7 separate regions of the Homo sapiens genome follow, and regions 1, 2, 3, 5, 6 and 7 are each linked to region 4. The links are contacts of gene promoters, found by promoter capture Hi-C in blood cells and fetal thymus (Javierre and others, 2016). All regions are on one chromosome and are shown on one strand. Each heading gives the region's core, a stretch centred on a gene start or on the middle of the fragment in contact. The rest is flanking DNA. Distances are from core to core; before and after follow the strand shown.

The links. Contacts are between HindIII fragments. The CHiCAGO score rates a contact against its expected background, and 5 or more counts as called.
Region 1: a fragment that was not itself captured here is called in contact with the fragment with the promoter of MFSD6 in region 4 in 1 of 17 cell types (fetal thymus); the score reaches 5.0 in fetal thymus.
Region 2: a contact is called between a fragment that was not itself captured here and the fragment with the promoter of MFSD6 in region 4, in 5 of 17 cell types (activated CD4 T cells, M2 macrophages, M1 macrophages and 2 more). The highest score is 7.8, in activated CD4 T cells.
Region 3: a contact is called between a fragment that was not itself captured here and the fragment with the promoter of MFSD6 in region 4, in 1 of 17 cell types (erythroblasts). The highest score is 5.2, in erythroblasts.
Region 5: a fragment that was not itself captured here is called in contact with the fragment with the promoter of MFSD6 in region 4 in 8 of 17 cell types (activated CD4 T cells, M2 macrophages, M1 macrophages and 5 more); the score reaches 9.7 in activated CD4 T cells.
Region 6: a fragment that was not itself captured here is called in contact with the fragment with the promoter of MFSD6 in region 4 in 2 of 17 cell types (total CD8 T cells and fetal thymus); the score reaches 6.6 in total CD8 T cells.
Region 7: a fragment that was not itself captured here is called in contact with the fragment with the promoter of MFSD6 in region 4 in 1 of 17 cell types (activated CD4 T cells); the score reaches 5.5 in activated CD4 T cells.

Annotation. Positions count from the first base shown.
Region 1 is chr2:190,891,852-190,894,551 of GRCh38, forward strand. The region is part of intron 1 of GLS (glutaminase); the gene reads left to right. Among named protein-coding and RNA genes, the nearest start is that of GLS, 12 kb to the left of the region's middle. The HindIII fragment of the contact is 308 bases long and covers 1,175-1,482 here.
Region 2 is chr2:190,759,621-190,762,459 of GRCh38, forward strand. It overlaps LOC124907946 (a long non-coding RNA gene), which reads right to left and starts at 881. Exons shown (of 2, transcript XR_007087780.1): 1 at 472-881. RefSeq lists an enhancer at 189-1,388. The HindIII fragment of the contact is 2,741 bases long and covers 197-2,839 here.
Region 3 is chr2:190,085,467-190,088,166 of GRCh38, forward strand. It overlaps a transcript of AKAP19 not described here. Among named protein-coding and RNA genes, the nearest start is that of MSTN, 24 kb to the left of the region's middle. The HindIII fragment of the contact is 2,772 bases long and covers 1-2,675 here.
Region 4 is chr2:190,407,098-190,409,797 of GRCh38, forward strand. It overlaps MFSD6 (major facilitator superfamily domain containing 6), which reads left to right and starts at 1,258. Exons shown (of 8, transcript NM_017694.4): 1 at 1,258-1,406. RefSeq lists an enhancer at 529-578 and a silencer at 839-1,878. The HindIII fragment of the contact is 2,674 bases long and covers 18-2,691 here.
Region 5 is chr2:190,798,294-190,800,993 of GRCh38, forward strand. No RefSeq gene overlaps it. Among named protein-coding and RNA genes, the nearest start is that of GLS, 81 kb to the right of the region's middle. The HindIII fragment of the contact is 2,719 bases long and covers 1-2,612 here.
Region 6 is chr2:190,870,318-190,873,017 of GRCh38, forward strand. No RefSeq gene overlaps it. Among named protein-coding and RNA genes, the nearest start is that of GLS, 9.2 kb to the right of the region's middle. RefSeq lists an enhancer at 1-44. The HindIII fragment of the contact is 3,363 bases long and covers 1-2,700 here.
Region 7 is chr2:190,717,481-190,720,446 of GRCh38, forward strand. No RefSeq gene overlaps it. Among named protein-coding and RNA genes, the nearest start is that of NAB1, 70 kb to the left of the region's middle. The HindIII fragment of the contact is 1,540 bases long and covers 680-2,219 here.

The DNA.
Region 1 (2,700 bases), core at 79-2,578, 480 kb after region 4:
GCTGTTTTTTGTTCTTTATAAACACTAAGTGAATGCTTACTTTCATCCCTTTGGTCTGTTTGCCAGAAATCTTTTTCTGTTGCCATGCTTCCAGCTCTTACCCATCTTTCAGGTTTAGCTCAGATTCCACCTCATCTAAAAAAAAGCTTGACCTTATTAGACCACAGTGAAGTAGTTTTCCAAAGTCTGGATGTCATAGATCTATTCTTGTAATTCCTCATTTTATGTACATGTCTCCTACTTCTTCTAGACTGTAAATGATGTCTAACATGATGTCATACATGGCATGGGATTTTTCTTCTTTTTCATTAAGAAATTATTTTTTAAGACAGTTAAAGGCTAAAGTAGGGGAAGGAATGGGTAAAAGAAGAAACAATATGATGGTAAGATGATCTTAAAGGCAGCATTTAGAAAGGAAACGAGAGAGACAGTATAAGTTGGAGAAGAAGTAAAAAGGTGAGAAATAAGGATTTTCCTTCAGATTATCTTCTGTTATATCCTATTTGAATTGCTGAATATCATAACCATTTTATGTTTTTCTCTTCAGGGGAATCTGGAGGATTCATTTGGGTTATTAATAATTGTTGATGATAAGATTTGAAAGATTGCTATAATCCTATTTGTCATTAAAACTTAAATACTTCTCTCAAGGATTTCCTAGTTACTATATAGTTACCAAAAGCTATAGTTTTTAGCTTTTGAATTTTAATGAAAAATACATTATTGTGAAGAATTACCAGAAAGAATTAATTTAGGGAGAGAAAAGGGGGGTTAAGGCATGAATGATCTTGAGTAGTTTCTGCCTTGTGGAAAGTTTGAGGAGAATATTTGAGTATGTTTGTTCGCCAGACTGTTGAAGCGAATTCATTCTCAGATCAAAATCTGAGGTTTCAAATGCTGAAATAGGTAGTAATTTCTTTTTATCAGTTTTGACAGCTTATTTTGTGAGCTTATTTTTTAGGGCTGGCTTAAATTCTTTCCCCTATAGATAAAAATTAATTTCTTGTTTAAAAGCAAGTAAACATTTGTCTTTTTTTGCTAGCTTTGGCAATAACGTGGTCATTTTAATTTTTTTTCACTATGTGCCATAAGCTAAAAAAGTGTATATTTTACGTTATTTACATAGCTTTTAGGCAAAGCAAATACCATTTACTTGTGTGATAAATACATAGAAAGCTTATTCTGCAGTTTTTTAAAGTGACAAACTACCACTATCTGAAGTTTATTTGACCAACCATTTGCTGTAAATAATTGGTATGTTATTATCCACTGATTTTTTGACAGCTGGTTCAGTTTTTTCTTTGAATATTAGGTGGTGAGTATTGTTAAGCTGTGTTTAATGGTATTAGGTCAGGATAAGACCTAGAAAACTTGTTTGTACCTTATAAAAGTAATAACAAGCTAGTAAGTTAGAGAGCCAGTATAATGTAGCAGTAGTTTGGATTCAGAAAAATCCATCTTTGCCATTGTGTAACCTTGGAAAGCTTCTTAACCTCTGAGCCTCTGTTTCCTAATCTGTGAAATGGGGACAGAGGTAGTCATTTTTTTGAACAAATAACAAATTTGTTGAGCTTCTAAGTATGTACCAGAAATCATACTATGTTTTGGATAACAGTAGTACCTCTGTCATAAAATCCTTGGAGGATTAAGTTAGAATGCATGTAAAACACTTAGCACAGTGTGTAGAATATAAGTAAGTGATCAATATATTGTAGTTATTATTACTAAAACATCCCAAATGTATTTTTTTTGGAGACAGAGTCTCGCTCTGTTACCCACTCTGGAGTGTGGTGGCACGATCTTGGCTCACTGCAACCTCCACCTCCCGGGTTCAAGCTATTCTCCTGCCTCAGCCTCCCAAGTAGCCGGGATTCAGGCGCCTGCCACAACGTCTGGCTAGTTTTTCTATTTTTAGTAGAGATGGGGTTTCACCGTGTTGGCCAGGCTGATCTCGAACTCCTGACCTCAAGTGATCCTCCTGCCTCAGCCTCCCAAAGTGCTGGGATTATAGGCGTGAGCTGCCACGCCCAGCTTCAAATGCATTTTTAGAAGTTGTCTAAGAGCAAAAACAGTTTCAGGGAATAATTATGTATCAGGATATGTCATTAAATATTTTAATGATAAAGCTATGTGTTTTTAAAAAACATTTGTGTGACATTCAGTATTTAAAAGTTTGGTTAATCATAGCATTTTAGTGTTACACTAGTTTAGTTAATTAAGATTTTTAATGCATACTTATTGGTAACGTTTTTCTTTTAATAGTCTTTATGATTTGTAGAATTTGATGTATACAGTCTTGCCTTGTCCTTCTGTATATGTTAAGAGATTGGTTCCAGGTCCCCCACAGCTCAAGTCTCTTATGTAAAATGGCATAATATTTGCCTATAACCTACATATATCCTCCCATATATTTTAAATCATCTCTAGATTACTTATAATACCTAATAAAATGTAAATGCTATGTAAATAAGTCTTATACTATCTTTTGAATGTACGTTTTTTTATTTTTTTTCTGAATATTTTTTATCCGTGTTGGTTGAATCTATGGATGCAAAGGGCTGACTAGGATATGTAAACCTAGATCACTTTAGAAATAATAACTACAACTACTGTCAGTGGAGTCTTACTCTCTGCCAGACATGTTCTAAAGATATTGAATGTATTGAGTCAACTGATCCTCACCACAACCCTATGAGGGAG
Region 2 (2,839 bases), core at 317-2,816, 350 kb after region 4:
CCATCACAATTCTGGCACTTACTTTAAATGATAGGGTATTGGGCCGTATTTGTCAATCTCTTGTAAAGAAACCAGGGTGTTTTTATATTTACCTGAATATGTCTTTCTACCTCCACCACCTTTTCCATATTCATTCATGTAAATTATAAAAGTAAGGCAGTTACTGAGCCCAATATTCACTGATAACAAAGCAGGAAGCTTATGGGTATGAATCAGAGTGTGGATGACTCATTAAAAGCCAAATGTTTGTACGGAAAGCTCCCCTAAAATGGCACAAAAGCAAATATTTATAAACATGTTAAGAAAGCATTGTGGAACTCTTGGGAGGAGGGGTTAAAATATTGCCACACATTCCTAATTACACTATTACAATAAAACATTGCTTTGCTACCATGAAGTCTGACCCAGGCTCTAAACTCTTTAGCAATGGGGTTGCTCTAATTAGCTATAATAAGACTGATCCTGACTCACAGTGTGTCCGGAATTGGTGGGTTCTTGGTCTCACTGACTTCAAGAATGAAGCCACGGATCCTCGCGGTGAGTGTTACAGTTGGCGCGTCTGGAGTTTGTTCCTTCTGGTGTTCGGATGTGTTCGGAGTTTCTTTCTTCTGGTGGGTTCGTGGTCTCGCTGGCTCAGGAGTGAAGCTGCAGACCTTCGCGGTGAGTGTTACAGCTCTTAAGGCGGTGCGTCTGGAGTTGTTCGTTCCTCCCGGTGGGCTGGTGGCCTCGCTGGCTTCAGGATTGAAGCTGCAGACCTTCCCGGTGAGTGTTACAGCTCATAAAAGCAGTGTGGACTCAAAGAGTGAGCAGTAGCAAGATTTACCACAAAGAGCGAAAGAACAAATCTCCCACAACATGGAAACGGACGCAAGCTGGTTGCCACTACTAGCTCAGGCAGCCTGGTTTTATTCTCTTATCTGGCCCCACCCACTTCCTGCTGATTGGTAGAGCCCAGTGGTCTGTTTTGACAGGGCGCTGATTGGTGCCTTTACAATCCCTGAGCTAGACAGAAAGGTTCTCTAAGTCCACACCAGATTAGCTAGATACAGAGTGTGGACACAAAGGTTCTCCAAGGCCTCACCAGAGTAGCTAGATACAGAGTGTCGATTGGTGCATTCACAAACCCTAAGCTAGACACAGGGTGCTGATTGGTGTTTTTACAAACCTTGAGCTAGATACAGAGTGCTGATTGGTGTATTTACAATCCCTGAGCTAGACATAAAGGTTCTCCACGTCCCCACCAGACTCAGGAGCCCAGATGGCTTCACCTCGTGGATCCCGCACCGGGGCTGCAGATAGATGGAGCTGCCTGCCAGTCCCGCGTTGTTCGCCCGCACTCCTCAGCCCTTGGGTGGTCGATGGGACTGGGCGCCATGGAGCAGGGGGTGGCGCTCGTCAAGGAGGCTCGGGCCGCACAGGAGCCCACGGAGGGGGTCGGAGGCTCAGGCATGGCGGGCTGCAGGTCCCGAGCCCTGCCCCGCGGGAAGGCAGCTAAGGCCCGGTGAGAAATCGAGTGCAGCGCCGGTGGGCCGGCACTGCTGGGGGACCCAGTACACCCTCCGCAGCCGCTGGCCCGGGTGCTAAGCCCCTCATTGCCCGGGGCCGGCAGGGCCGGCCGGGCCGGCCGGCTGCTCCGAGTGCGGGGCCCGCCAAGCCCACGCCCACCCGGAACTCCAGCTGGCCCGCAAGCGCCGCGCGCAGCCCCGGTTCCCGCTCGCGCCTCTCCCTCCACACCTCCCTGCAAGCTGAGGGAGCCGGCTCCGGCCTTGGCCAGCCCAGAACGGAGCTCCCACAGTGCAGCGGTGGGCTGAAGGGCTCCTCAAGTGCCGCCAAAGTGGGAGCCCAGGCAGAGGAGGCGCCGAGAGCGAGCAAGGGCTGTGAGAACTGCCAGCACACTGTCACCTCTCAACAGTACTTCTTATTTTGAGATATCATTCTATTTTGATAACTTCAGCCTCTCTCTATTTTTCCTTTTTTTTTTTTTTTTCCTGAGACGGAGTCTCGCTCTGTTGCCCAGGCTGGAGTGCAGTGGCGCAATCTCGGCTCACTGCAACCTCTGCCTCCTGGGTTCAAGCAATTCTCCTGCCTCAGCCTCCCGAGTAGCTGGGATTACAGGCATGTGCCACCATAACCGGCTAACTTCTGTATTTTTAGTAGAGATGGGGTTTCGCCATGTTGGCCTGGCTGGTCTCAAACTCCTGACCTCAAGTGATCCGCTCGCCCAAAGTGCTAGGATTACAGGCGTGAGCCACCACGCCCGGCCTGTTTTTCTTTCCTTTTTTGAAGACAAGGTCTTGCACTGTTGCCCAGGCTGGGGTTCAGTGGTGTGATCATAGCTCACTGCAGCCTCCAATTCCTGGCCTCAAGCAATCCTCCTGAGTCGGCCTCCCAAAATGCTGGGATTACAGGTGTAAGCCACTGCACCTGGACTATCTCTATTTTGAATGCATCAAAAATACATGTGCTACTTATGACAATTTTAAGTTTTCTGTAGATATTCCTCTTAATTGCAATCTGTACAGAGGACACAAGAAAAGGGCGATTAGAAATGGAAATTTGTTTCTTGATGAGGAAATCTTCAAGTAATGTAAGTATACATTTAAATTCTGCACCAGGATGTTGCCTATTTTTTTAAATGACTTTCTTTGTCCTCCAAGTAAATATAGAATGGCTGTTTGCTTTAATTCTAACACATACTTTTGGCACATTCCAGGTTCTTGCTTAGACTTCTCAGGCTCTAATTTGAAACCCCAGAGTCCTTTACCCAGACTGATCTGGGGCCTATGGTAAGTCAGCTCCTGTTAGAAGCTGTCTTCAAATAGGAGGTGATGATGGAGGT
Region 3 (2,700 bases), core at 40-2,539, 320 kb before region 4:
CAAATATAGCGTTCACTGATCATCTAGTGAAGAGGGAATGAGGCAGCTGAAAGAATCCCATTTCCTCTCTGAAGTTTAGCAGAACTCTTTTAGCTACTGATTATAAGATCACAACGTACTTGAGGCCATGGGCCATTTCTTTCCTTCATTTGTGTTCCCCTTCCCCCTGAACAACTTATCACATAGTATGAGCACGTTGTAGATGTTAATGTATACATAGATTAGATTTGAAATTGGTAATGACCTCACTGTCAATGGAAAATAGGACACTGATCATCCATACCATACAGTGACAAAACATTTCTTAAATGATCAGCTTTTGTTGCTGGTAACCAGGTGCCTCTCAGCAGCAAGGCTTAAGAGATGAAGTAACTGGTGCAATAAAATATTATAGTGGAAATTATGAGCACGAAGGCCATGGGAAAGGTTCTGCTTGCACTAGAAACTACCTAAAAGACTGTCTTGTTTCTTGTACCAGTGGGGCTGAAATAGCCAAAAAACAAACCTAAATTTGCTTCTACAGCTTTCAGCATTACAGTGCAGCCTTTCTAGGCATAGGTTAGTAGAGTGGGATCCTGTGAATGGAAATATTTGGGTAGGTTCTAATGAATCCAACTACAAATCCTTCACTTGTGTTTCCCTTCCTCCAAAGAAATCTATCACATAGTATAAGCACATTGCGGATGTTAACATACACATAGATTAGACTTGAAATCAGTAATGGCCTCACTATCAATGGAAAATAGGATACTGATAATTTGTACAATGTAATGACAAAACATTCCTTAAAATATCACCAATTGTTGCCTGAATTAACAAACTCCACTGAGTCTTAGTTGTTAGTAGGAGCAGTCCTCCTCTTCCATCTGATAACCTGTAATAATTTCACCTGAGGTGGTTTATTTGCAGGAAGATGACGAATCTCCTAAATGTTAATTCTCACTACTTATCACTTCCAGACCCTGACCTATTCCATAATTAGGTTCAAATCCTCAAAGACCTCAAGGAAGATGGGGAAAGAGAAACATTAGAAAATATGCACGATGGTTGCAGTCTACACAATTTATGAGGCCATAGTAGGTATTTGTAACTCCCTCTTCCACTTCCCTTCCCATGCTCCCTTTGCTCAGTTATCATTTTAGCTAGGTGTTATTATTTATCAGTCAGAGTGACCTGAACCTTCATTCCTGAAATATCTGAACCATTGTGGTTCTTGCTTGGCTTGGTTTGCTCTAATCTTGTAAATTTTACCATGGATATGGAAGGAATTGCTCAGATATGGATATGAAAGGAGTTGCTCAGAGAATGTCTTGCCTTTGAGACATGGTCTTCCCTCTGTTTTGTAGTACCACCACTTTTCCCACTTTATGATTAGGATTAATTGTCCCAGCGAATACAGTAATCCCTTTCTTTCCTTGTTGGTTCAGTGCCTTGAAGACCTCAAAGTGGCTGATGTGGCAGTCTCAGCTTCCATTCAAAGGAACCCTTCTAGTGTTTCCTGGAAAAAGTATTCCTTCCATGGAAACTAAGAGCACAACATTGTGAGGTTGGAAACAAAAGTTATGTGAGTAGGTCATTAGGAATAATAATGGAACCACCAATACTTTTACACTTTCATTTTCAGATCTAAGTATTCTGGCTATGGAAGAAATAGCATTATATATTAGTTGCTGGCTTGGGAAATATACAATAACTTGTGGGACAGCAACCTAGTCTTACAAGTGGCAACATAAGTTGTCAATAGATTATTCTACCATTTAATCAAGTCAGATTTTTCCAACAGACATGAAACCATTTCTTCAACTCAGATTCCTTAAATCTCTCATCAGTGAGACTAGCCAGATCATAGTGGGAGAAAAGAATCCTATGTTCTTAAGCCCACACGTGATCAACATGCCCGTTGCTAGGGCCAAAGTGTTCATGGGCCCATTGTACAAGCGCCAGGGTAGCTAGGGGAGGCAGCTAACTGGCATCCACAGGATTGGCCATACTCTTTACTTGATTACTGAGAATCTGTTTTACAGTGGATGCCTTTTAGTAAGCATTAATTTGGGACACAGATATTCTCACTCTGCTTACTCTGAGAGGCCCGTCCTAAAACTCTTCCTCAGGCCTCCCTTTAACCATTCCTCAAATTCTGTTTTCCAACCCGCTGACTCCTTGGCCAAAGTGCCACTTGCCTGTGAATCAATGTCGATCTCTACTTCTGTCTGTCTTCCAGTTAGGTTTTGAATCATACATCATGAACCCTTCCACCCTGAGGTCTTTCCACCCTGCTCAGGGGCATCCTCAGAGCAGGCTCTATAGTGTTCCCAATTGGTCATGAAACCAATAAACCTCTATAACCTTTCTAGTCAGAATGGGACAATCTTCTATCTTGTTCTTTTTACTTAAAGCCCTCTTCTCCCTTCCTTCTCCAGGGCTCCTACCATAATCTTTTGTATAAAAGATAAGGAGTTTTAAAACCTCAGATGGCTTAAGTTTTCCCCATGCAAAAAATTCCGGACACACACAAAAAAGTAGAAAAGAACCTGGCTACCTGCTTGAATAATTGGAGAGGAAAAAATTACAGAGATCATCCCTGAAACACTGTAAAGTATGTATAGCTGATATTATTATACCTATTTTAAAGATGGCAGAAAGGAAATGTGGAAGGAGTAAAGTGACTTTGCCAAAGCTTCCATAACTACCTAAGAATAT
Region 4 (2,700 bases), core at 8-2,507:
GAGGCTACTATAGTTTAAGCTTCAGAGACCCTTCATAAGCTCAGGAAGGGGCCCTAGAAACTTCGTATTTGTAATTGTTTTATTCTTCCTAAAGAGGGACTCAAAATTCAGAAACTTCAGGGCCTATCAAATTCTTACCAGTATGATTTCACGGTTAAGAGCTTAAAGCCTGGAGACAAAAGAAGCCTGCTTTCCCTTTCGCTGTTTAGTAACTTTGGATGGGTCACATTAACTTTCAGCCTCGGCTTTCCTCAGTTGTAAAATGGGAATAACGTTTCCTACACCTATAGGGTTATAAGGCTCAAAGAGTACCTACACAGTGCCCCGTACATAATCGATGTTTATAAGCGTTAGCTACCATTGTCACTCTTGTCGTTGTTGCCGTTAGCTACCATTGTCACTCTTGTCGTTGTTGCCAGAACAAGACAATAAACTCCTTAAGAACAGGATGTGGCATCCCCCAAAGCCCATCACAGGCACACAGACATACTTGCCAAGTGAATACTCCACTCTCCCCCAACTCTCTGCGTGTTTAACTAGAAATACAACTTTAATTATATTCTTAGTGCGACACACACGGTTGGCTTTTCAGCAAGATGCCAGTAGCAGCTTCCTGAAAAAGGGTGCCTTCGTCTCAGTGTTCCCCCTTCTTGGTGAGCCCCGAAACTCACAGATCGTTTGTCTCCCGCACCCCGCCGGCTCCTCCCTCCCGGGTCAACCTGGGACAGACGCGGAGATAACGCACTGACAGCATTAGCATTGTGTGTGCCACTTAAAAGGCGCTCAAGGAATAAGGGATGTTAGTACATTTTCCCCCACATTTCCTGGCCCGCACTCATTGCCTGGGGGCTCAGCGGAAGTCGCTTGGGGGTGCGGGGGGGTGGAGGGTGCGGTAGGGATGGAGCCTCGCCCAGTGCTTTCGCCTCCTCAGCGTGCTCCCCGGGCCCGGCTGGGTTCAGGTGTCCCTCCGGGCCGCCGGGGCGGGCTGGAGGCCGGGAGCGGGCAGTCGACGCATCCGCCGCCGCCGCAGGAGGCGGAGCGCTGCACCTGGCGGCCGGTCCTCAGCGCCCGGCCCTGAAACGGGTCCAGCCGGTAGTGACCGGCGGCGGCGACTGTGAGGCCGGGGCCGGGGAGGAGGAGGAGCCGCAGCGGGAGAGAAGGTCGCGCCGGCGGGAGCGCTGGGCCCTCCGCCTCCGTCCTCCGTGGCCCCACCCGGTCCGCATCCCTCGCCTCGCCTCGCCGCGCCCCGCCCAGCCCGTCGCAGCCCCGGAGGAGCGCGCGAGCAGCCCGGGATGGTGCGCGCTGCCCCGACAGCCGCCGCCCCGGCGCCCCGAGCCGCCGCCCCGTGCTCCGGGGACAGGGCTCCCCGCGCCCCGCGCAGCTGAGCGCTGCCGCCGCCGCAGCAGGTGAGTCGGGCCCGGCTTGCGGAGAAGGGGCTCGCAGACCCGCCCTGGCCTCCCCCGCCCCGCACGGGCCCAGCCGGAGGGCGGGTAGGCACCTCAGCCGCGCACACCTGCTGCCGGGAAAGGGGCTTCGGGGCCGGGGCTCGGAGCCCAGCGTGCGCCGCTGTCTCCGCTCGGGCCTCGCTCGCCCGCCGCTCCCTCCCTCCCTCCCTCCCCCGGCTTCCGTGTCGGGTGTCATCTTTGTGGGGTGCTGGGGGAGGCTGCCGCCTGCGCCCCCAGCGCGCCCCGTGCTGGCAGCACTTCCGCAAACGTAACTGGAGTCGGGAAAACAAAGGCGCTGCCCAGGGAGCCCTCGCCGGGCGCCCACAGCTGCTGCCGCGGGTGGGGACGGAGGGTGAGCGCCGATGCCCGGGTCCTCCTCCGCCCGGGCCGACCCGCGCCCTCGCCATAAACATCCCTGGGAAAAAGGAGGAGGTGAGAACCTCCACACAGCCCCAGTGACAAGGACGCGGCCACTTGTGTGGCAGGAGGAGGAAATTGACAACGTCTGCCCTCCCAGGTTAATAAATACGGAAAAAAAAATACCTCTGCTCTGCCAGCCACCATCCTAGCAGACATCCCCCACCTCGTGCTTTACTTCCACTTGGTCTAACATGTCTCTGGAGCCCTTTTGAGATACTACTGGGGGTTGCTAGTCTTTCTGGGTCATATTTATTGCCCATAGAGCAATTTTCCTGCAAATTTAGGTAAGATGGTGGAAAAATACAAACGCAACTTTCCCCCTCGTTAATCCCATCCCCACATGGACAGACAGGTGGGTTAATTACCTTTATGCATTCGCAACCACGGACGTTTCTTTTCATCCCAAAAAGATTGAATAAGCACCTCACAGAACTACTGGAACATATAATACCTTGCTTATTAGTGTGCAAAAGACTTAAAGAGTTGGGGTTCTAATCCCAACTGGTATTTAAATAGATGTGTGTGCTTGGGCATGTCACATCTTCCTGAGCCCCAGTTTTCTCACATGGAAAAGAGGATGGTTGGATATTATAGTGGCCAAAATTTCCCCTAATCCTTCTAGAAGTCCATGATTTTCTAGAAATCTAACCTCTTAAGTATAGATGAATGTGAAGGGTGGGTGGACATACAGTTGACTAAAATATGTAATAAAAGGAGATGTGTACTTGGTAGGTCCTTTCCCCAAGATGTGGGCACTAGCCAGCTAAAAGTGTATGCATCTGTTTTAGCCTTGTTAAGTAAAAGGATAGGATCCTCCTCTTTGGGAAGCTTGGCT
Region 5 (2,700 bases), core at 3-2,502, 390 kb after region 4:
TTTCCTCTACCAAAATACACAGATCACAATTTTTGAACAAGATTTCTATGCACCCTAGTGGCATAATGAGTTACATCCCATCCCATCCCATTCCATACCAACTGTTCTACCCACCTGGGGTAGGAGCAGGGAACCTTCTGTAGCTTGTATTATTCCCTTTGAAGGTCAGGAGAATATAACCTCTCTCCACTTGAGAACCGAATCACAATTGTCATCTAGAAGGTTAGTGTATCAACTGATGACTGGTTTTCAAATCAACTGAAAAGTATACAAGTAGGGCACAATGCCAAAGAAAATTTACAGATGGACATTTGGTATCGCAGACTAGACTAAGCAAAGAGCAAACTAAGTATGTGCTTAGGGCATCATAAAAAGCCAAAAACCGCCTAAGTAGCTATAAGAGGGAAAAGCAGACTTTAATGAACAATATCGCACTTATTTTATAGTTCAGGGTTTTTGTTTTGTTTTGTTTTCTGAGACAGGGTCTCACTCTGTTGCCCAGGCTATGTAGTGCAGTGTGCAATAGTCTTGACCTCCTGGGCTCAAGCAATCCTCCCACTTCGGCCTCCCAAAGTGCTGGGACTACAGGCGTGAGCCCCATTCCTGGCTGATTTTTTGTTGCTGTTGGTAGAAATGAGGGTCTTTTTATGTTGCCCAGGCTGGTATCAAACTCCTGGGCTCAAGCAATCCTCCTTACCTCAGCCTTTCAAAGTGCTGGGATTACAGGCATGAGCCACCACACCCAGCCTTATAATTCAGATTACAAAAATTGTTTTTAAATACATATGAGAGGCTGTTGGGGAGGCGTCACAGCCTTTTCAGTGGTTGAGGCTTCTAAAGGCAATCAACCCTTCTTTATATCTCAGAATAGAACAAGTTGACATAGTATTTAATTAATCAACCACAATCCCTAAACAAGTCTTTATTTGGATACTGAAAACTTTTAATTCAGTTTATAAAATGGTTTTAGTCAATAATAGGGCTGTTTTCCAAGTAATTGTCTTCACATGACTCAGTATTTCAACAATGGGTTGAATGGACTGCAGTTTTAATAGGAGAAATTGTGAGCTAATACTTCAGTGGCTGTTCACTCAATGAATGGACTAGAAGCAATACACCTGAATTCAAATCCAGTTTTTTTTTTTTCATTTCTAATCTGTGAACTTGAATTACTTACCTTGAACTTAGGTTTCTATATGTATAAAATGGAAATTCTGTGATAAACTTCAGGAGTTGTTGTGATTATTAAATGAGATAATGTGAGATTATCTCATTAAGGTGGCTGAATCTCTTATTTGGATGTTAGAAGGATTAGAAATGAGACATTTATTTGAAGAAGTTTATTAAAATTCTTCACAACCTCCCTGTAGTGATCTATTGCTCTTCTGTTACTACAACATATGCTTCTACTAAGTCACACCACTCATAGATCCATGGATTGATGGGCAGTTGATAACATTTATTTGGATCTTATGTTAAAAAAATACTCTGCAGCAATAGTTGGTGTAGAGTTGTTTTTTTAACCATCATACTCTGCTTAATTTTAGGAGCACTGCAGATCCTTAAAAGTCCTAGAATAGCAGTTCTCAAACATGGCTGGAAAAAGACCTATGCCAGGGATCCACCCTAGGCCAGTACTGGTATTTCAAAACCGGAGATTGATATTAAAAAAAAAAAATCCCTACATGATTCTAATTGCAGCCAGGATTGAGAATCACTGTCCTTAATTTTTTTAATTAATTAACTTTTAAAAATTAAAATTATTTTAATTTTATTCACTAATTCTTATCCATTTTCCAATCCTTTTATCTACATCCCCTAGTTTCTCCCCAACACCCCATTCCATCATTGACTAGCAGTCACAAAGAACATAGAGTTCCTCATTTGGGTTTTCTTAATGACCAGTGGGAACTTTCTAAATTAGTGAAGTTCAATGCTGACAACACTGAATTTACATTAAATGCAAAAGACATTATCCCTCACTGGGAACAAAACACTACTGCATTAATTTAGACAATAGGTTTTCATAGAATCACATGATCAGCAAGAAGTATATAATTATTCTTCAGCCACCTGAGAAATCTTTACCTATAGATTCATGCCCTCTATGGCCAAAATCTCCAAGAAGTGTTTCCTACTTTTATTATTCTTAGCCATATTGTTAAGAATGTTCTTTTGTTTAACTAATTTAAGCTGCTGTCTTCAGTGGAAATGGAGAACAATACATGAATTGCTTGCTTACTGATCTTTTGTTTAGTTGTGAAGGCTCACAAATTCACAATTAAGCCTTCTTTTCATCAGGTTAATAATAAATAAGTTGTCATTATAAACTACGTCTCATAACCATTTGCTGTATATTTGTCATTCTTCTTCTCTGAACACAATTAGACCACTGTATGATAGAATAGTTATTTGCCTTTGCTTTAACATGTTATCTAAAGATAAAAGTGCATTGCTTAAGATTGAGGTCATCATTTTAAGGTATGATTACATTCACATGCAAGCACTTTCCATTTTTTTCTTACTTTATAATTTTAAGATATAAAATGTAGTCACTGGGTTATTAAATATAATTACCTTGCCTTATATCTGAAAGCAGAATGCAAACATAAAGCTTTTTTGCTTTGGTAATTTCCATAATTTCACACATAGCATTAATAAGGCCCTGGGTGTAATTCAGATGTACAGATTGCACCCACA
Region 6 (2,700 bases), core at 53-2,552, 460 kb after region 4:
GGCTCACTGCAACCTCTGCTTCCCAGGTTCAAGTGATTCTCCTGCCTCAGCCTCCCGAGTAGCTGGGATTACAGGCACATGCCACTACGCCCAGCTAATTTTTCTATTTTTAGTAGAGACAGGGTTTCACCATGTTGGCCAGGATGGTCTCAATCTCTTGACCGCAGGTGATCCCCTCAGCCTCAGCTGCCCAAAGTGCTGGGATTACAGGCATAAGTTACTGCACCCAGCTGTATCTCTACTTTATTGTTAATGCTGATTAGTTGTATCTAAACTTAAAATGGAAGGGAGTATAATGAAGCATGGTCTGAACTAGTTTTTCAGGTTTCTTTGAAATCTCCTTGGTCAAGAAAGAGGTCTGTTCAGTCGGTTTGGGGCTAGAATTTTATTTTTGTTTTCCAATAAATTCTGTTTTTAAGTCATTTATTTCCTCTTGCATCTCACTGTATGCAGTTAAAGGTAGCTCCAGCAGCCTGGAAGTATTGCTGCTTAGATATTTTTTCCACCAGATATCCTAGTTCATTGCTCTTAAGTTCTGCATACCATAAAGCCTAGGGCATGGACACAATTCAACTAAGGTCTTTGCTACTTTATAACAAGGATGGTCTTTACTCCAGTTTCTAATACCTTCTTCATTTCCATCTGAGACCTCATTAGAATGGCCTTTACTGTTCATATTTCTACCAACATTGTGGCTGTGAGCACTTAAGTAATCTCTAAGAAGTGCCAGATTGTATTAATCTGTTCTTGCATTGCTATAAAGACCTACCTGAGACTGGGTACTTTATAAAGAAAAGAGGTTTAATTGACTCACAGTTCCCCAGGCTGTACAGGAAGCATGGATGGGAAGAATTCAGGAAACTTACAATCATGACGGAAAGCAAAGAGGAAGGACGCATGTCTTACATGGCCGGAGGAGGAGGAAGAGAGAGCAGGGGGAGGTGCTACACACTTTTAAACAATGAGATCTCATGAGAACTCACCATCACAAGAACAGCAAGGAGGTAGTCTGTCCCCATGATCCAATCCCCTCCACCAGGCTCCTCCTCCAATACTGGGGATTAAAATTCAGACATGAAATTTGGGCGGGGACACAAATCTAAACCGTATCACCTACTTTCCCTGCATTTCTTCTTTTCTGAACCCTCACCAGAATCACCCTTAATGCTCTGTTTAGGACAATCTAGGCCTTTGCTAGCTTGCTCCTCAAATTCTTCCAGCCTCTACCCATTACCCTGTTTCAAAGCCATATCCATATTTTCAGGTATTTGTTATAGCAACAGCTCCACTTCTCAATAACAATGTTCTCTCTCAGGCCATTTTCTGCTGCTGGGACAAAATACCACAGATTGGGTAATTTATGAAGAAAAGAGATTTATTTGGCTCATGGTCTGGAGGCCAAGATGTCCAAGAATATGGTGTCAGCAATTGATGAGAGTCATCTCATGGAGGAAGGCATCACATGGCAAATGAGTGTGAGTCAGAGAGAACAAATGGGAGTTGAACTTAATCTTTTATCAGGAGCCCACTCCTGCAATAACTAACCCATTTCTATGATAATGGCATTAATCCATTCATGAGGGCAGAGCCCTCATGACCTAATCGCCTCCTAAAGGCCCTACCTCTTAATATTGTTAAAATGGCAATTAATTTTTTTTTTTTTTTTTGAGACAGAGTCTTGCTCTGTCACCCAGGCTGGAGTGTAATGGTGCAATCTCAGCTCACTGCAACCTCCGCCTCCTGGGTTCAAGCCTCCTGGGTCTCAGGAGGCATGTGCCACCATACCTGGCATATACCACCATGCTACAGGCCACCATACCACATGCTACCGGCATGTGCCACCATACCACCATGCTACAGGCATGTGCCACCACACCACATGCCACAGGCATGTGCCACCATACCTGGCTAATTTTTTTTTTTTTAGTAGAGACTAGGTTTCACCATGTTGCCCAGGCTGGTCCAAACTCCTGACCTCAAATGATCTGCCTTCCTCAGTCTCCCAAAGTGCTGAGATTACAGGTGTGAGCCACCACGCCTGGCCAATTAAATTGCAATGTGAGTTTTGTCAAGGACATTCAAGCCACAGCAGAGTCTTTGGGTGGGCATTTCACTGATGGTTCAAAAGAAATGAGGATAAGTGCCAGATCTAGCTGAAGGGTATGTTTTCAGCAACTCTATTATTAATTAGCCATGTGACCTTATTAACTTATAATATCTCTAGCCATAACATTTAGCAATTGATACCTGTATTAGTCCATTTTCATGTTGCTGATAAAGACATACCTGAGACTGGGCAATTTACAAAAGAAAGAAGTTTAATGGACTTACAGTTCCACGCGGCTGGGGAGGCCCCACAATCATGGCGGAAGGTAAAAGGCACATCTCACATGGTAGCAGACAAGAGAAGAGAGCTTGTGTGGGGAAATTCCCCTTTTTAAAACCATCAGATCTCATGAGACGGATTCACTATCAGGAGAACAGCACAGGAAAAACCTGCCCCCATGATTCAATTACTTGCCACCAGGTCCCTCCCACAACACATGGGAATTCAAGATGAGATTTGAGTGGGGACACAGCCAAACCATATCAACACCTGTCTCCAACAGAAATGTTACAAACATAAATAGCCTCTTTAACATCAAAGGAAGGAAGAATATATTTCTTATTCATATGTTATTAGTAAAGTAATTGCTTTCA
Region 7 (2,966 bases), core at 200-2,699, 310 kb after region 4:
AGAGACTGTTGGTGAGTCATCTGCTTCCTTGGGGGGGCTGCAGAGTGAGGAGGTGCTTTTCCTGCTCCCTCCTCACTCACCAATTTGATGTCTGCTTATACGTAGACGGCCTGGCCCACCTCTGTCCAATGTGACAAGTAGAAAAGAGAATTGGAAGGAGGCAGAGAGAAAGGGTAGAGTGCTGCAGCTCCCATGCCTACCATTTAGCATTTGGTGATGGAAGTGTGATTTCACAGATCAAAGGAACGCATAGAAAGCAGCCAGCCTTGAGCCTGTCTCACCCATATCCCACCCAAGAGAACTGGCTGCCAGGAAAGTGGACCCTGGTAACAACAACAACAATAAAAACCAGTGGGGTGAATCACCAAGGGTAGGAGCAGATGGTAGAGACTGTGAAGTGGGAGGCATCTGTGGGGCTTCTGGAAAATTCACATAAGCATCAGTGAGGAAGCCAGTATTTGGATGTCTGCCACCAGCTGCCAGCCCTGGCCAGGCAGGTGAGAAACACTTGTCTGTCTCTCCTGTTCCTCCTCACTAGTCCACACAGATGGGAGGACTGCACAGAATAGAGGAGGATGCTGCCGGAGCAGGTGTGCTACTCCACACCCTGAGTCCCTCTGGTGGGGGCTGGCCAGGGCTGGCGGAGTGGACATTGGTCATTGCATTGGACCCAGACGGAAGCTTTAAATTGGACTTGCGAAAGGAAAATATCTTGGGCTTCCAAAATCACTAAGGAAAACTCAAGCTGGAAACTGCTTAGGGCAAACGTGTCTCGCATTCTATTCGCAGTCTCCCCTCTGCTCACTGAGATAGATTCATATCTGACTTGCCTCCTTTGGAAAGGCTAATCAGAAATCCAGAAGAATGTAACCGTTTGTGTATCAGCTATCTGTGACCTGGAAGCTCCCTCCCCGCTTCGAGTCTTCCTGCCTTTACTTCAAGTCGTCCTGCCTTTCCAGATGGAACCAATGTACTTCTTACATATGTTGATTGATGTCTCATGTCTCCCTAAAATGTATAAAACCAAGCTGTGCCCCGACCACATTGGGCACATGTCTTCAGGACTTCCTGAGGCTGTGTCATGGGTGCATCCTCAACCTTGGCAAAATAAACTTTCTAAATTAACCGAGCCCTGTCTCAGACCTTCAGCGTTCACAGACTATACCGAATCGGGCTGTTAATCTTTGAAAGTGACTGGAACCCTAGAGATCTAACCAAGATATTGTCAGGGAACTCAGCAGAGAGATCGTGAACATGGCAGAACTGAAGGCAAGTGACTGTAGAAAAATAAATTATTTCACGCCTGTACTTCCTACGAACAAGGATTGTTTAGTAAACTAGATGTGGTAGCCACGATTTTCATGATCAACAGAGTGGCAACAGGCAAGACTGAATGATGGGGCTTTGGGGAATTGCACTGGCGATGAATCACCCTGAGATTATGCAGGTGGGGTTTCCCCTGAAGGGACTGGAACTGCTCACTGCCAGCTGTCCTCAGAAGAGGTCAGTCATGGGGCGGGAAATCAGAATGCTGGGACTAGAGTCAGTCTGACTGGATTTCCCAGGAAAGGTGACTGTTGAGTCCCCAGGGCACTTCCTCCTGGAGGGGGAAGGACCTGTGCCTGGCACTGACTTATTCTCTGTTTTCTGTTTCCTTTCCATTGTCCCTGAACCTTTATTGTGATCTGATCAGTGTCTCAAATATTTTGACTTCTGATGTCCTGAGAGGAATTAAGGGGAAAGGTCCACAACCAACCCCTGAGGCAAAGCAGAGGAGGGTTATGACTTCTGTCCTCAGGCCACAGCAGTGGTGGCAGCCACAGGCACCAGCTGAGAACAGCTTTGCCCCAGAGGGACCAGTTTCTGAATACACATGACAGAGCACCTTGAGAGAGTCTCAAGATTCTTTAGCAGAACAGGGGACACTGGGAGTAGGGGCAGAGGGCACTCATTTTTGTCAATAAAACTAGTGTGAGTCAAACTACGATGGCTTCAGTTACACTATAAATAGAATTATCAAACAAGGGGACAAGCTCCTTGTCCCTACAAGTGCTTAAAAAATAAATATTTTTCTTTTAAGGAGTTTTCTAATGGTGTTCCTATGACATTAATTTATTAAACATTTAACATACTTTGCACTTACTGTATATCAAGCATTGTGCTAGGTTCCTTACATACAATTTCTATTAATAACCTGGTTTTGTAGTTGAGGAAACAGAAGCTTACAAAGTGAAATAAGTTGCCTTAGGTCTTGCAAATAATCAGTAGTAGAGACCCCCAAAGGTGAGCACACTAGAATACACCAGCCTAGTCGGGGAGGATGACCATCATGGAAAACCACTCACTGATGGAGATGTGCACAAATTGTTTTGGGCGCATATGACTTAGTGTTATGGGAAAGGGAAGAATAGAGGGAGTGGTCAGAGAAGGTATCTTTTTTTTTTTTTTTCTTGAGACAGAGTCTTGCTCTGTTGCCCAGGCTGGAGAGCAGTGGTGTTCAATCTTGGCTCACTGCAGCCTCCCCAGGTTCAAGTGATTCTCATGCCTCAGGCTCCTGAGTAGCTGGGATTACAGGTGTGTGCCATCATACCCGGTTAATTTTTGTGTTTTTAGTAGAGACGGGCTTTCACCATGTTGTCCAGGCTAGTCTTGAACTCCTGGCCTCAAGTGATCCTCCCACTTTGGCCTCTGAAGGTGCTGGGATTACAGGTGTGAGCCACTTCCCAGGCCCATTCAAGGCTTTTTAAAAGACGTGTCTCCAAGGCTGAGTCTTAAAGATGTGCAAGCAGTTAAAAGAAGAAGGAGGAAGCCTCCTGGGGGCAGGTGAGAGGAGGCTGACACTCCAGACGAAAGGGCCAGCCAAGTGATTCTCACAGAGATAGATCAATAAATATTAAGTTGAATGACAACATGGGCAAAGTCACCTAATCAAGACACCACATAGCTCTGGGGTGACAGGAGGAGAC